3 separate regions of the Homo sapiens genome follow, and regions 2 and 3 are each linked to region 1. The links are contacts of gene promoters, found by promoter capture Hi-C in human tissues and cell types (Jung and others, 2019). All regions are on one chromosome and are shown on one strand. The core of a region is centred on a gene start or on the middle of the fragment in contact, and the rest is flanking DNA. Distances in the headings are between cores, read along the strand shown. Region 1 holds the start of F10 (coagulation factor X). Region 2 has its middle 15 kb from the start of LAMP1. Region 3 holds the start of MCF2L (MCF.2 cell line derived transforming sequence like).

Evidence for each region. The method cuts DNA at HindIII sites, captures the fragments that hold promoters and counts their contacts. A contact is called where the count stands out against the background at its distance.
Region 2: a fragment that was not itself captured here is called in contact with the fragment with the promoter of F10 in region 1 in 2 of the 25 tissues and cell types used here (IMR-90 fibroblasts and mesenchymal stem cells).
Region 3: a contact is called between a fragment that was not itself captured here and the fragment with the promoter of F10 in region 1, in 2 of the 25 tissues and cell types used here (H1 embryonic stem cells and dorsolateral prefrontal cortex).

Annotation. Positions count from the first base shown.
Region 1 is chr13:113,120,192-113,124,571 of GRCh38, forward strand. F10 (coagulation factor X) reads left to right here and starts at 2,608. Exons shown (of 8, transcript NM_000504.4): 1 at 2,608-2,734. The coding sequence starts at 2,665. F7 (coagulation factor VII) reads left to right here. Exons shown (of 8, transcript NM_019616.4): 8 at 1-494. The HindIII fragment of the contact is 14,274 bases long and covers 1-4,380 here.
Region 2 is chr13:113,280,456-113,284,835 of GRCh38, forward strand. No RefSeq gene overlaps it. Among named protein-coding and RNA genes, the nearest start is that of LAMP1, 15 kb to the right of the region's middle. The HindIII fragment of the contact is 8,108 bases long and covers 1-4,380 here.
Region 3 is chr13:112,966,842-112,971,221 of GRCh38, forward strand. MCF2L (MCF.2 cell line derived transforming sequence like) reads left to right here and starts at 2,373. Exons shown (of 30, transcript NM_001112732.3): 1 at 2,373-2,617. The coding sequence starts at 2,539. MCF2L-AS1 (MCF2L antisense RNA 1) reads right to left here and starts at 1,797. Exons shown (of 1, transcript NR_034002.1): 1 at 643-1,797. RefSeq lists an enhancer at 1,528-2,047 and a silencer at 2,249-2,308. The HindIII fragment of the contact is 3,406 bases long and covers 30-3,435 here.

The DNA.
Region 1 (4,380 bases), core at 1,358-3,857:
GATCCTGTGGAATTGGATGTTCTCTCCCTGCCACAGCCCTTGTCAATGATATTTCACAGAGACCCTGGGAGCACCTGCTCAAGAGTCAGGGACACACGCATCACTAAATGCAAGTTCCCAGGCCCTGGCTGCAGTGGGAGGACCTGGCAAGCTGCACTCTTGCTGAGTCCCCAGGGTGGTGGAAGAAGAATGAGAAACACATGAACAGAGAAATGGGGAGGTGACAAACAGTGCCCCCACTCAGACTCCGGCAAGCACGGCTCAGAGAGTGGACTCGATGCCATCCCTGCAGGGCCGTCCTGGGCACCACTGGCACTCACAGCAGCAAGGTGGGCACCATTGGCACTCACAGCAGCAAGGCAGGCACCAGCAACCCACCTCGGGGGCACTCAGGCATCATCTACTTCAGAGCAGACAGGGTCTATGAACTACAGCCGTGGGCTGCTTCCAAGGCACCCTGCTCTTGTAAATAAAGTTTTATGGGAACACACCCATATTAGTGTCCATGGAGTGGCCGTGGCAGAGACGTCCAGCCGGACAGACCAGCTGACCCGCCAAGCCCAGCATGGTTAGTGTCAGGACCTCTGCTGAAGATGCTTGCTGACCCTGGCCAGACCCCGGTTCCTAATGCCCCCTAAACGGGACGGGAGCCAGTGGCGGGCCCTGATCCAGGTCAGAGCTGGCTCTGCTTTCTCTTTTGTCCGAGTGACCATGCCTCAGTTTCCTCATGTGTAAAACAGGAGCCCACCGTGATGCTTATGGTGGGATGAGATCAGCATGGATGGAACAAGGCCCTGGAAGGGCCCATGCCATGGTCATCGACAGCAAAGCCACTCTGCAGACAGATGCTTCAGTGAATTGGTAGAAAATTCTGCAACCAGAATGCCCGGGGCTCCTGAGGGCCTAAGCCCAGCCCAGGGTTCTGGAAGCCACTCTGACTTCTTGGGAGTGGAAGTTGGCAGGACTCTTCCTGGGAAGAAGCGGAGGGTGGGGATGAGAGGACAGTTCAGGAGCCCACCCAGACCCACAGGAGGAAACTAGGGGAGTCATGCGGGGTCCTGGTGGAGCGCCAGCCTCCCTTCCTGCCAATGGGAAATGCAGGCGCCCACCTCATGGTGCTGCCGGAGGAGGGGGCCCGGGACTCCCCAGAGGCTTCGCTGAAGGGCCTGGGCGCCCCCAAAGGCTACATGTTTCATATGGGACGTGCCACCTGCCACGGCTCAGCTCCAGCTTTCTGTGAGTGGCGAGATAGAATACGGGGAGGCCACTGGCCATGGGCCTGGGACAGGGTGGGATGAGGCGGCAGGCTTGGGCCACCAAAGCCAGCATCGCCACCCAGCATTGATGACAAAGACTGCGTGTCTGCCATGAGCATCCTGCTGTTGGTGCACACACCGCATTGGTCTCTCCATACAAACATGCCTAGAGGCGATGTCAGAGGGTGGAGACCAGGAGAGGCAGGAGTCAGACATCTGGTGCCACCAGGAAGGCCCTTCTCAGAGGACCAGGCTGTGCGTGGTGCCCGCCGTGGGAGGCCAGCCTGGCGTTGGCATCCAGCATCATCAGTTTGTGCAGTCGGGTGGGGCTCAGTGAGTGCCTCCTGTGTGCCAGGCACAATGACGCACAATGTGTGCACACCAGGCTCATGTGCAGGTGGCTGCGAGACAGGGCGACCCATCAAGGCAGATGCACCATGAGGCAGTGGCCAGTGCTGTGGGTGTTAGGGGCATTGCTCCCCGGCCACTACGGCATAGCAGGCAGTGATCGCCACACTGGCCAAGCTTTAGACCATTTATTCCAGAGACCCCAGAGGCAAAAAGCCCGGCTGCACCTCCCAGTGACTCCCACAGCCATTGAGCAGAGACACTCAGGACCTTGTGATGGGAGGTTTCTGCACTGGAGAACGAGCCCAGAAGCCCTCTCAGCCTCGGAACAGTGTGGCCAGTGGTGGGCAGGTCAGGAGGGGCTTCAGACACAGCCTGTCCCTCCAGATGGTCACGGGAAGGTCACTCCCCACAGAAGTACGTTTTGGGGCCATGCGGGCACAGAAGGTTTGGGGGTGGGTGGGGCAGGTGCCAGCCTGGCCTGTGGGAGGCCATGGTGCAGATGCCAAGCCCCCCCCGTGACATGAGACCACCTGATACCACCCAGAGAGTGGCTGTGAGCGGAAGGGCCCGCCCAGAAACAAGCAGGGCCTTGGGGCAGAAGTCCTGGGCTCAGATCCCACGCTCACTGCCAGCGGCCTCGGCTCAGGCTTCTGCGCTCTCTAAACTTAGTTTTCTCTTCTGGAAAAATGATGGGGAAAATGATATTTGTATGTGAGGACTGAGAGTTAAATGTAAACATCTGGAAACTACAAAATGAGCACGAAATGATGTTTTTATTCTTAGAACAGAAAGTCCCCACACCCGCGGCCCTGGTGACTGATGAGGATGAGGTTCTGCGGGGCCTCTCTGGCCGCCCAGCTCTGCCTGGGGAAGGTGGGGCCAGAGTGGATGTGTTCCCAGCGTGGTCACTCCCCTGCCTCGCCAGCAGGTCTCGGCTCCAATCAGGAGGCCTAAGCCAAGTGATAAGCAGCCAGACAACAGCCATCCCAGCTGGGGCGTGGACTTTGCTCCAGCAGCCTGTCCCAGTGAGGACAGGGACACAGTACTCGGCCACACCATGGGGCGCCCACTGCACCTCGTCCTGCTCAGTGCCTCCCTGGCTGGCCTCCTGCTGCTCGGGGAAAGTCGTAAGTGCCCCTCGCCCTTCAGACCCAAAAGCAGCGCCAGGGAGCAGGGAGGGGCGGCAGTTGGGGAAACCCTCTCATCTCTGCAGCCTGGACGGTGGGTGCCTTGAGTGCTGCCAGAGGCTGGGCTCGGATGGCTGGGCTTGGCCTTTCCAGCCAACGGCATCCTCAAGGCCAGCTGTGGCTCCCTGGGGCTGAGAGTCAGACGGGCGGATCAGAGGTCACAGAGACAAAAACACAAGGACAGAGTCAGAGAGAGAAAGGGAGAGGGAAGGAGAAACGGAGACACAGTGAGATGGGAGGCCAAGAGGCAGAGACAGAGGTAGAAAGACGGAGACAGAGAGAGAGGGAGGGGTTGGGGCAGGCAGAGACAGGACAGTTAGCCATCTGCCACCACAGGGAGGCACAGGACGAGGGGCACAGCAGAGGAGCTCCCAGGGAGGAGGAGGCTGAGCCGAGCCAGTGCCACCACTCTCGGACTGGCTCCGTCGGGGAAGGAGCTGCCTAATGCACAGCTGGACAGGTGGGGGCAGCAGGGCTGTCCAGGACCCCCGGGTCTGTCCAAAAGCAGAGGCCCAGACAGGACAGAAGCCAGGCAAGCCTGGGGACAGCGGAGGAAGAGGAGGCCCCTCTGGTGGGGACACGAGAGACAGGGACCCTAGACTTGTTTGCATCCTGGACAAAGTGGACAGGCAGGGGCACCAAGGGGACCCAGGCCTGGGAAGGGAATGTGTGAGGGAGAGACGGAGCAGGGGGAGACCCTCGTGGGGTGGAAAGGGGAGACCCCTGGGAAGGCTGAGTGGATCCTCAGTGCATCACTGACCTAAACGGCCCCTCCGCCTGGTGACTTGGAGCTCCAGTCACATCACACGGGGGTCTTCTCCATCCCACCCTCAACCCCCTGCCCTCCCCAGCCTCTGTCCCCTGAGCCACATCTTCCTGTCTCCCACGCGGAACGGGACTCCCGTCTTCATGGGGTACTGTGTGGCTCCAACTCGCCCAGCCTTCTTCCTCCCCCTCAGGCCACACTGCCCCCTGCAGGAGCCCACTGTGATGCTTGTGGTGGGATGAGATCAGCGTGGGTGGAACAAGGCCCTGGAAGGACCCATGCCATCATCATCGACAGCAAAGCTACTCTGCAAACAGACAGATGCTTCCGCGAATTGGTAGAAAATTCTGCAGCCGGAATGCTCTAGGATCCTGAGGCCCTAAGCCCGGCCCGGGGCTCCCGAGGCCCTAAGCCCGGCCCGGGACTCTGGAAGCTGCTCTGGCTTATTGGGAATGGAAGTTGGCAGGACTCCTCTTCCTGGGAAGAAGCAGAGGGTGGGGATGAGAAGACAGGCCAGGAGCCCACCCAGACCCACAGGAGGAAACTAGGGGAGTTATGCAGAGTCCTGGTGGAGCGCCAGCTTCCCTTCCTGCCAATGGGAAATGCAGGCGCCCACCTCGCGGACCTCTGGGTCCACAGGGTATTGGCACCCTTAGCTGTGTGATGCGGGCCTGGCTCATAACCATGGCCTGTGGTGTCCCCGGGGGCCGGCCTGGACCCTGGGTGGACATGGCCAGCCCCGGAGAGCCAGGGCCAGGCCATCTCTCTCCCCTACTCTGCCTCAGAGGCCTCGGCAGCTGCACTGTGGGGTGGGTGGGGC
Region 2 (4,380 bases), core at 498-2,997, 160 kb after region 1:
GTTGAAGACTAAAATAAATAGAGATGTATACCACATTATTGTCAAACCCAATATTAAGATGTCAGTCTCCTCCAAATTGATAATAGATTCAATCCAGAGCCCAGCAAAATTCTGGCTTTCTTTATAGAAAAATGACAAGCTGATTCTAAAATGTATATGGAAGTGCAAATAGTCAAAACAAATTTTAAAAGAACAAAGTTGGAAGACTTACTCTACCTAATACCAAAGACTTACTATAAATCAAGACATTGTGATATTAGCAAAAGGGGAGACATAGAGATCAACTGAGTTACACAGAGAGAATAAAACTTCATCCACTTACATCAGGTCAAGTTATTTTCAACAACGATGCCAGGCCAGGTACAGCGGCTCACACCTGTAATACCAGTACTTTGGGAGGCCGAGGCAGGTGGATCACTTGAGCTCAGGAATTCAAGACCAGCCTGGGCAACATGGTGAAACCCCATCTTTGCTAAAAATACAAATATTATCTGAGTGTGGTGGCACGCACCCGTAGTCCCAGCTACTCGGGAGGCCGAGGTGGGAGAATCACCCGCCCTGGGAAGTCGAGGCTGCAGTGAGCAGTGATGGCACCACTGCACTCCAGCCTGGGTCATGAGAGTGAGATCCTGTCTCAAAAAAGCAAAAACCAAATAAACAAAAAAATAAAGATGCCGAGGCAATTTTGACGAAAAAGCCAAACTTGTAAAATATTGAAAGAGGTTTACCCTTGAGCCCAGGAGTTTGAGGCTGCATGAGCCTATGATTGTGCCACTGCACTCCAGCCTGGGGGACAGAGCAAGATCCCATCTCAAAAAAAAAAAAAAGAAAAGAAAGAAAGAGAAAGACAGCAAGAAAGAAAGAAAAGAGAGAGAGAAAGAAAGAGAAAGAAAGAAAAGAGAAAGAAAAGAAAGAAAAAGAAAGAAAGAAAGAAAGAAAGAAAGAAAGAAAGAAAGAAAGAAAGAAAGAAAGAAAGAAAGAAAGAGGTTTATTCTGAGCCAATACAAGTGACCATGGCCCAGGGAACAGTTTCAGGAGGTCCTGAGAATGCACGTGAGGTGGCTGGGTTCCAGTTTGGTTTTACACATTTTAGGGAGGCAGAAGTTGTGGGCAAAGGCGTAAACGGATGCAGGTTAGTATACTTTGGTTTGCCTGGAAAGGCAGAGCATCTTGAAGTGAAGGTTGGAAGGGGCTTACAGGTCATGGATGGAGTCAAAGATTTTCTGATTGGCAACTGGTTGAAAGAATTAAAGACTTGAGGTCAGTAGAAAGAAATGCTTGAGATAGGATAAGGGGGTGTTGGGCTGGACGGGGTGGCTCATGCCTGGAGTCCCAGCACTTTGGGAGGCCAAGGCGGGTGGATTCGTTTGAGCCCAGGAGTTTGAGACCAGCCTGGGCAACACAGTGGATCTTGTCTCTGCAAAAAAACTCAGAAAATTTGCTGGGCGTGGTGGCACATTCCTGTAGTCCCGGCTACTCAGGAGGCTGAGGCAGGAGGATCACTTGAGCCTGGGAGGTCAAGGCCACAGTGAGCCCTGATTGTGCCACTGCCCTCCAGCCTGGGTGACAGAGCAAGACCCTGTCTCAAAATAAAATAAAATACATTAAAAAAACTGAAAGCTTGCTCTTTGATAGATACCATTAAGAAAACAAAAAGGTGGCTGGGCACGGTGGCTCACGCCTGTAATTCCAGCACTTTGGGGGGCTGAGACAGGCAGATCACGAGGTCAACAGATTGAGACCATCCTGGCTAACACGGTGAAACCGTGTCCCCACTAAAAATACAACAACAAAAAAAATTAGCCAGGCGTGGTGGCAGGTGCCTGTGGTCCCAGCTACTCGGGAGGCTGAGGCAGGAGAATGGCATGAACCCGGGAGGCAGAGCTTGCAGTGAGCCAGGATCGTGCCGCTGCATTCCAGCCTGACAGAGCAAGACTCTGTCTCAAAAAAAAAAAAAAAAAAAAAAAAAAGGCAAGGCATAGAATGGGAGAAAATATTTACAATACATAGCGCTGACAAAGGATCTGTGTCCAAAATATGTAAAGAACACTCAGAATTCAACAATAAGAAAATAAACCATTCTTAAAAATATGCCAAACATTCTATAAATAGACACTTCACTGAAAAAGATACAAATGGATATCAGACACATGAAAGGACCCTCCATGCCATTAGTTGTCAGTAAAATGCAAATGACAATCACGAGACACTATTACAAAGCTATTATAATTTTTTTAATTAAAAAGACAAATTGGGAGTGGTGGTGCACACCTGTAATCCCAGCTATTTGAGAGGCTGAGGTGGCAGGATCGCTTGAGGCCAGGACTTGAGAGCAACCTGGGCAACATAGCAAGACTCTGTTGCAAAAGACAAAAAAGAAAAAGAAAAAATTAGAAAAAAAGACTGACAATACCAAGTTTTGGCAGAGATGTGGAGACGCTGTTGTGGGGAACATGCAATGGTGCACCCACTTTGGAGAAACAGGTAGCAGTTTCTCCGGAAGCTAAACACGCACCTATCACACGCCCCAGCCATTCCACTCCCAGGTATTTACTGAAGGGAAAGCACGGATCCACAAAAGACCTGCACACAAACATTCACGGCAGCTTTATTTGTAACTACCAAAACAATGGAAACAACAACCCAAATGTCCTTCAACAGGTGCATGAGCAGACGATTATGGTAGAGCCAAACAACGGGATGTGCCTTCGCACTAAAAAGGGTGAAGGCATGCTGCATACAGCAACATGCGCAAGCCTCAAAAACATCACCCAAAGAGAAAGAACCTAGACACAACGAAGTACACACTCTGTGCTTCCAACAAAGTGAAATGCTGTGATACAAAACTCATCTCTTGTGACAAAGCAGACCCGTGGCCGTGTGGGTTTAGGGGTCGGGTGAACCGCAGAGGCCATGCGGGAGCCCTCTGGATTGAAGAAAATGTTTCCTATCTTGATTGGGGTGGTGGTTTCATGGGTATACATACTTGTAAAAATTCTTCAAACTGAGCACCTAAAATGGGTTTATTTTATGTAAACTAACCTCAATGAAGTTGATTTTAAAAGTTAAAAGAGGCCAGGTGCAGTGGCTCACGCCTGTAATGTCAGCACTTTGGGAGGCAGAGGCAGGCAGACCACTTGAGGCCAGGAGTTCAAGACCAGCCTGTCCAACATGCCGAAACCTCATCTCTACTAAAAATACAAAATTAGCCTAGCTTGGTGGCACATGCCTGTAATCCCAGCTACTTGGGAGGCTGAGGCAGAAGAAACACTTGAACCTGGAAGGCGGAGGTTGCAGTGAGCCAAGATCATGCCTCTACACTCTAGCCTGGGCAACAGAGCAAGACTTTCTCAAAATAAAATAAAAATTAAAAGAAAAAATGGAAAATGAACGAGGCATTTTTACCTAGCTCTACTTAGATAAACTAATAGTTCCTCATTGAGGATCTTTTTCAAAGTCAGTGCCATGGTCATCGTGATCTTTCTTAATGGTCTTGTCTGGATCCTAAAGTTTTCTTCTTATGAAACAGAAACAGACAATGGCTAGATTAACTGATGACTGATGCCTCCAGGTAGCCTTCCTAACAGATACCACCTGGAGACCACAGATGGACATGTGTCTGCAGGTCTTTCGTCACACCCTTCCTCTCATCACCATCTCCTCAGGCATGACGTGAACACGGTTCTGACATGTCTGTCCCGTGATGCTCAGTTCTGCTGCATGGCAACAGTAACATAGAGCCTTTTTTTTCTTTTTTTTTATTTTTATTTTTTTTTTGAGACAGTCTCGCTCTGTCGCTAGGCTGGAATGCAGTGGTGCGATCTCAGCTCACTGCAACCTCCACCTCCCAGGTTCAAGTGATTCGCCTACCTCAGCCTGCCGAGTAGCTGGTATTACAGGTGACTGCCACCACACCCAGCTAATATTTGTATTTTTAATAGAGACGGGGTTTCACCATGTTGGCCAGGCTGGTCTCGATCTCCTGACCTCGTGATCCACCCTCCTCGGCCTCCCAAAGTGCTGGGATTACAGGCATGAGAAAACGCGCCGGGCCTCACAGAGCCATTTTTAAATCCCCCTTTGAGGTTAGTCATGAGTTCAGATGGAGAAGTGGCTTCATGTGGATTTCAGTTCCCATTCTGTGTTTTTCATTATTAGGAATAGGCTCTGGTTAGCAGGATTTCATTCTTAAATAAAAATAGGCTCTAATTAAGCACACCTTGGATCCCAGGGCTCTCAGGAGACAGCATTCCAGTGAGTCTGTAATGGGCACATGAGCATTATTGCAGTTACCGAATTTCTCTTGCTGCAAATGACTTTGAACTATTTTTTTTAAACCCACTTTCGAAGAAGGTAAAAGTTTTGGTTCTTTTTTGTGAG
Region 3 (4,380 bases), core at 483-2,982, 150 kb before region 1:
AACATCCCAGGAAATTTTGCTAGAAATGCACATCCTCGGGCCCCATCCCAGACCTCCTGGATCAGCAAGGAGCCATCAGAGCCCAGCTGTGTGAGCTTAACAAGTCCTCGGTAGATCCTGACGCAGCCCAAGGCTGGGCAGGCTGGAGGGCACCTGCATGCCAGGAGAGCGGCCGGGAGAAGAGGGCAGGTGCTCAGAGGGAGTGTGGCCTAGGGCCGTGTGGGCTGAGGACCAGGGAGGGTGTTGTGCCTTAGACTAGTGGAAAGGGCAGGGCCTGCATTTCAGGACCCTTCTGCCTGATGACAGGCTTTCCCTGAAGCTGGAGGGGCAGGGTTGGGGTGGGGGGGCGGTGGGGGATGGGGAGTGGTGAAGGTTCCCTGAACTGACAGGGAATGAGAGGAGCAGACCCATTTGAGGGCACTTTTTGCAGACCATGTGTAGACAGGAGGTAGCAATTGTGCCGCCGTAGGCACCCTGGGCAGCCCAGGGAACGCTTGTCCACAGAGGGAGAGGCTCCCATCCACTCTGAGGCCTTTCCAGAGTTCTCCTTTCACTGGTCTCCAAAGAGATTCTGTAGAACCAAGTGAAACTGCTGATACTCAATACGTTTCTCATGTTAAACAAAAACAAAAACAAAGCAGCCATTTCTTACAGATTTATTCAATACTTTCTATCTGGTTATTATGCCTCTTATTCTGTAATTATTTTTTATTATGAATTATTTATTTCCAGATCTGTCTGGCCTATAAGGCCTGTAGGCACTATAAGGGGGAGTACTGCGTCACCTTCATCTTTTTATCCCTTTGGCCTTGCTCCGTGCCTGAAAGCTCACCACACTGGAACGTCCAGGTGCACATGTGCCACTGGACACCGGGATGTTGCCGGATGCTCTTTTGGACGCTGGAATGCTGGTGCATTGTTGCCGGATGCTGGAATGGTGCACGCACGCTCTGTTGGACGCTGGAATGCTGGTGCATTGTTGCCGGATGCTGGAATGGTGCACGCATGCCCTGTTGGACTCTGGAATGCTGGTGCATTGTTGCCAAATGCCGGAATGGTACACGGATGCTCTGTTGGACGCTGGAATGCTGGTGCATTGTTGCCGGATGCTGGAATGGTGCACGCATGCTCTGTTGGACGCTGGAATGCTGGCGCATGTGCACATGTTATTGGCATGAGCTGTAGTTCAAACCTCAGCCATATGATGCTTGAATTCCCAAACCATTCGTGGAAATGTGTACTTCTTCCTGCTGGAATTCTCTCTCTCTCTCTCTCTCTTTTAACTGATTGGGGAGTGAGGTGGGGGGGGGGGTCTTGCTACATTGCCCAGGCTCAAACTTCTGGGCTCAAATGATCCTCCTGCTTCTGCCTCAGCTTCTGCCTCGGCCTCCGGAGTAGCTGGGACTACAGGCCTGAAATACTGTTTCTTTAAGGAAGGGCATGTTACCTATAATACCAAACCACAAAAGGATAGCTGCGGTTTTGGGCGAGGAGAGCTCAGAGAGTTTCTTGCATATGGCCCTGTGATGGCGGCCATGGCCCTGCATAGACACGAGCTGGAATCTGCAGGTGGCAGCCAGGACGCTGCGTGTGTCGAGTGCACAGTGTGGCTTGGTGCCAACCATGGCGAGGGTGGAGAGCCCCGTGCCTGCAGCGCGCGCTTCCCTCACTGGGTCCTGCGTCCTTGGGCAGGCGATGCCCCTGCGGGGAGGGGCTGGTCCATCCCCGGCCAGCCACGGACCCACGCATGGACCCAGCGACCCACGGACCTGCTTACCTGGGCGCGGCGCGGGTGGCATGCGGCCACACGGAAGGGGCGCGCTGGGCTGCTGCGGCCTCTGCAGCTTCTACACCTGCCACGGGGCGGCCGGAGGTAAAGGGAGGCGGCGGCCAGGCGCGGCCCCGCGGAGGCAGCTGCACTCGCTCGGTCCACTCGCGGCTTCGCGGCTGCCCGCAAACCAGGAGGGCGTGGAGACCCGGAACCGGGGGGAAGGGCGGGGGCACTTGTGCGGCACCCGCGGGGCTCCCAGGGGACCTCGGCGGTGACACGAATTTCTAGGTGACCTTGGCGGTGACACGAATTTCTAGGTGACCTGTGTGATACACTAGGTGACCTAGTGACACAGGTGACACTTCCAGGTGACCGCGGCGGTGACCCGCGGGGCTCCCAGGTGACCTCGTTGGTGAGCCCCGGGGCTCCCCGACGACCGCGGCGGTGACACGCGGGGCTCCCAGGTGACCCCGGCGGTGCACTCACAGGACTCCCAGGTGACCCGCGGTGGTGACACACCGGGGCGGGCGCGCGCCGCTTCCGCTTCCGCCGAGCCGCCCCCCGCCCCCCGCGGCGCAGCGCGCGCCCCCCTCCCGGTGGCGCGGAACCAATCCTGGGCAGGGAGGCGGCGGCTGGAGGCTGAAAGCGCTGCCGTGGCCCCCTCCCCGCCTCCGCCGCGCCCCCTCCGCACTCGCACGGCCCCACCCGCAGGCGCCCCCCGTGCGGAGGAAGCGGATCTGCCAGGATCATTTTTGTTGTGTCGGAGGATGAGGTTTTGGCTGAGGACTGAAGAGATGGCCTTGGAAGAAATGGTGCAGAGATTAAATGCGGTTTCCAAGCACACGGGTAGGAGGAGCTGCTGGCCGTCAGTGATCTGTGCTTAAGCTTGACATCATGGGCTGAAATGTGGGGAAATGCGTCTGATTTTTGTAAGCCGCCCTCGTGTTCCTTTCTAGCCGTGGTAGCTGTGACATGGGGGGCACTGGTTGGCAGCTGGTGTGTTTTCAGAGGCTGTCGGCGATCGTATGCTGCCCGGGATAGTCAAAATGACTGCACGTTGGTGACACTGGCTCTCTCAGGGTTGCTGGGTCTGCATGCGGAGCCATTTGTGTGTCTGAAGTCTGCCCATCAACCTGCCTGTCCGCAGCCCTCGCAATGGAGAATGCATTGCGAATGGAGAATGATCTGAGCCAAGGGCTTTCAGAGCTTGGGGTTTCAGAGCCAGGGGTAGGGATGGTGAAGCTACCTGGAAGCTCGTTTTGAGGATGAAAAAACCTGGACTAATCAGGTGGTTCTTTTCTTCATTAAATGCAATTTAAACCTAAGACAGATGTTTGAGACGGTATGGGTAAAGAGTGGACTGGACGTTCATTTTCAGTATTAATCGAAATATTACTTCAAATAAGCTTTGAAGAGTAGTTCAGATCGATTCTTTTAGGTGTAAGCAGAGACTGGGCTGACAGCTTGCATCTGGCCGTGGCTTTCAGGCGGTCGCATCTGAGTTCTCAGGCTGTGTTATGCAGAAGGGAGAGGCATCCTTAACTCGTTTTCCTTGAAATGAAGAGGAAATAATGATATATCATTAAAAGTAAGTTGCCAAGTGTTTTGCCTGATGTTGCCATATGTTATGTCATATATGCCATTACTAGTTGTCTAACTAGTACTTGCCTGGGAGATTAAAATGTCAGTTGCTTGGTTTGGGTGTGGTTCTCTTTCTCTGCCCACCCCGATGGATTCTGAGAGTGAACCAGTGATTAAATCAGCATAAGCACCATCGTATGGGATGGTCTAATCAAGATGTTTTTAATGGGGGCTTTTATGATCAAAGCTGCTGGGTTTATTGTATGTGGGTCGAAAGAAAACAAAACCATTTTCATGCCGTCTGCTCCCTGATTCTTAGAGAATCAGCTCTTTTTCTGAAGCTTGAGTGGAGCTTTTCCGTGCAGGGTTTGCAGGGTTTGAGTATGGTGAAGGGCTGCGTGGATGCCAGGTTCACAGGGAGGCTTCCGATCGGCTGTGGGGGTGGAGGAGAAAGCCCCCCTTGCTCTGCATGCCTCTGCGTGCCGTTCGGTGTCAGAGTCACAGAGTGGGAACCGCTCCAGAGGCTGATGTCATTCCCCAGGTTTTTAGGGATTGGGGTTTCTTCATGAGCTCCAAGAGACATGTGCGCATTTTTAATTGGAAAAAGGCTATCTCAGAAGAGCAGCAGTGACACTGTCTGCTCACTGAATGTCGTGCGAGCCGGGCGCTCGGTGTGGGCCATCGTCTCATCTGGAACAGGCAGTGAGATGTGCGTCCTCCCACACATCTGCATTACCGATAATTGCATGCTTCACCAGGACTTTCAAGTCCAGCTTACCAGATATCCTCGGTTATGAGCACCCTGTAGCGTTTAGTTAGGGGAGGTGACCCTGCATCATACTCCACTTACCACCCATTAACACTGGCCTCTTCCTTCAGCACAAACCCATTTTCTGCTCACGCTGTGTGAGGTACTGCTCAGCGGAGGCAAGTTATTAGGTTGAAGGCTGTAAAACCATCATGAGGGGGTTTATGATGCAGTATTGACATGATGCTACCACAGAGTGTACGGGTATGTGGTGCACATT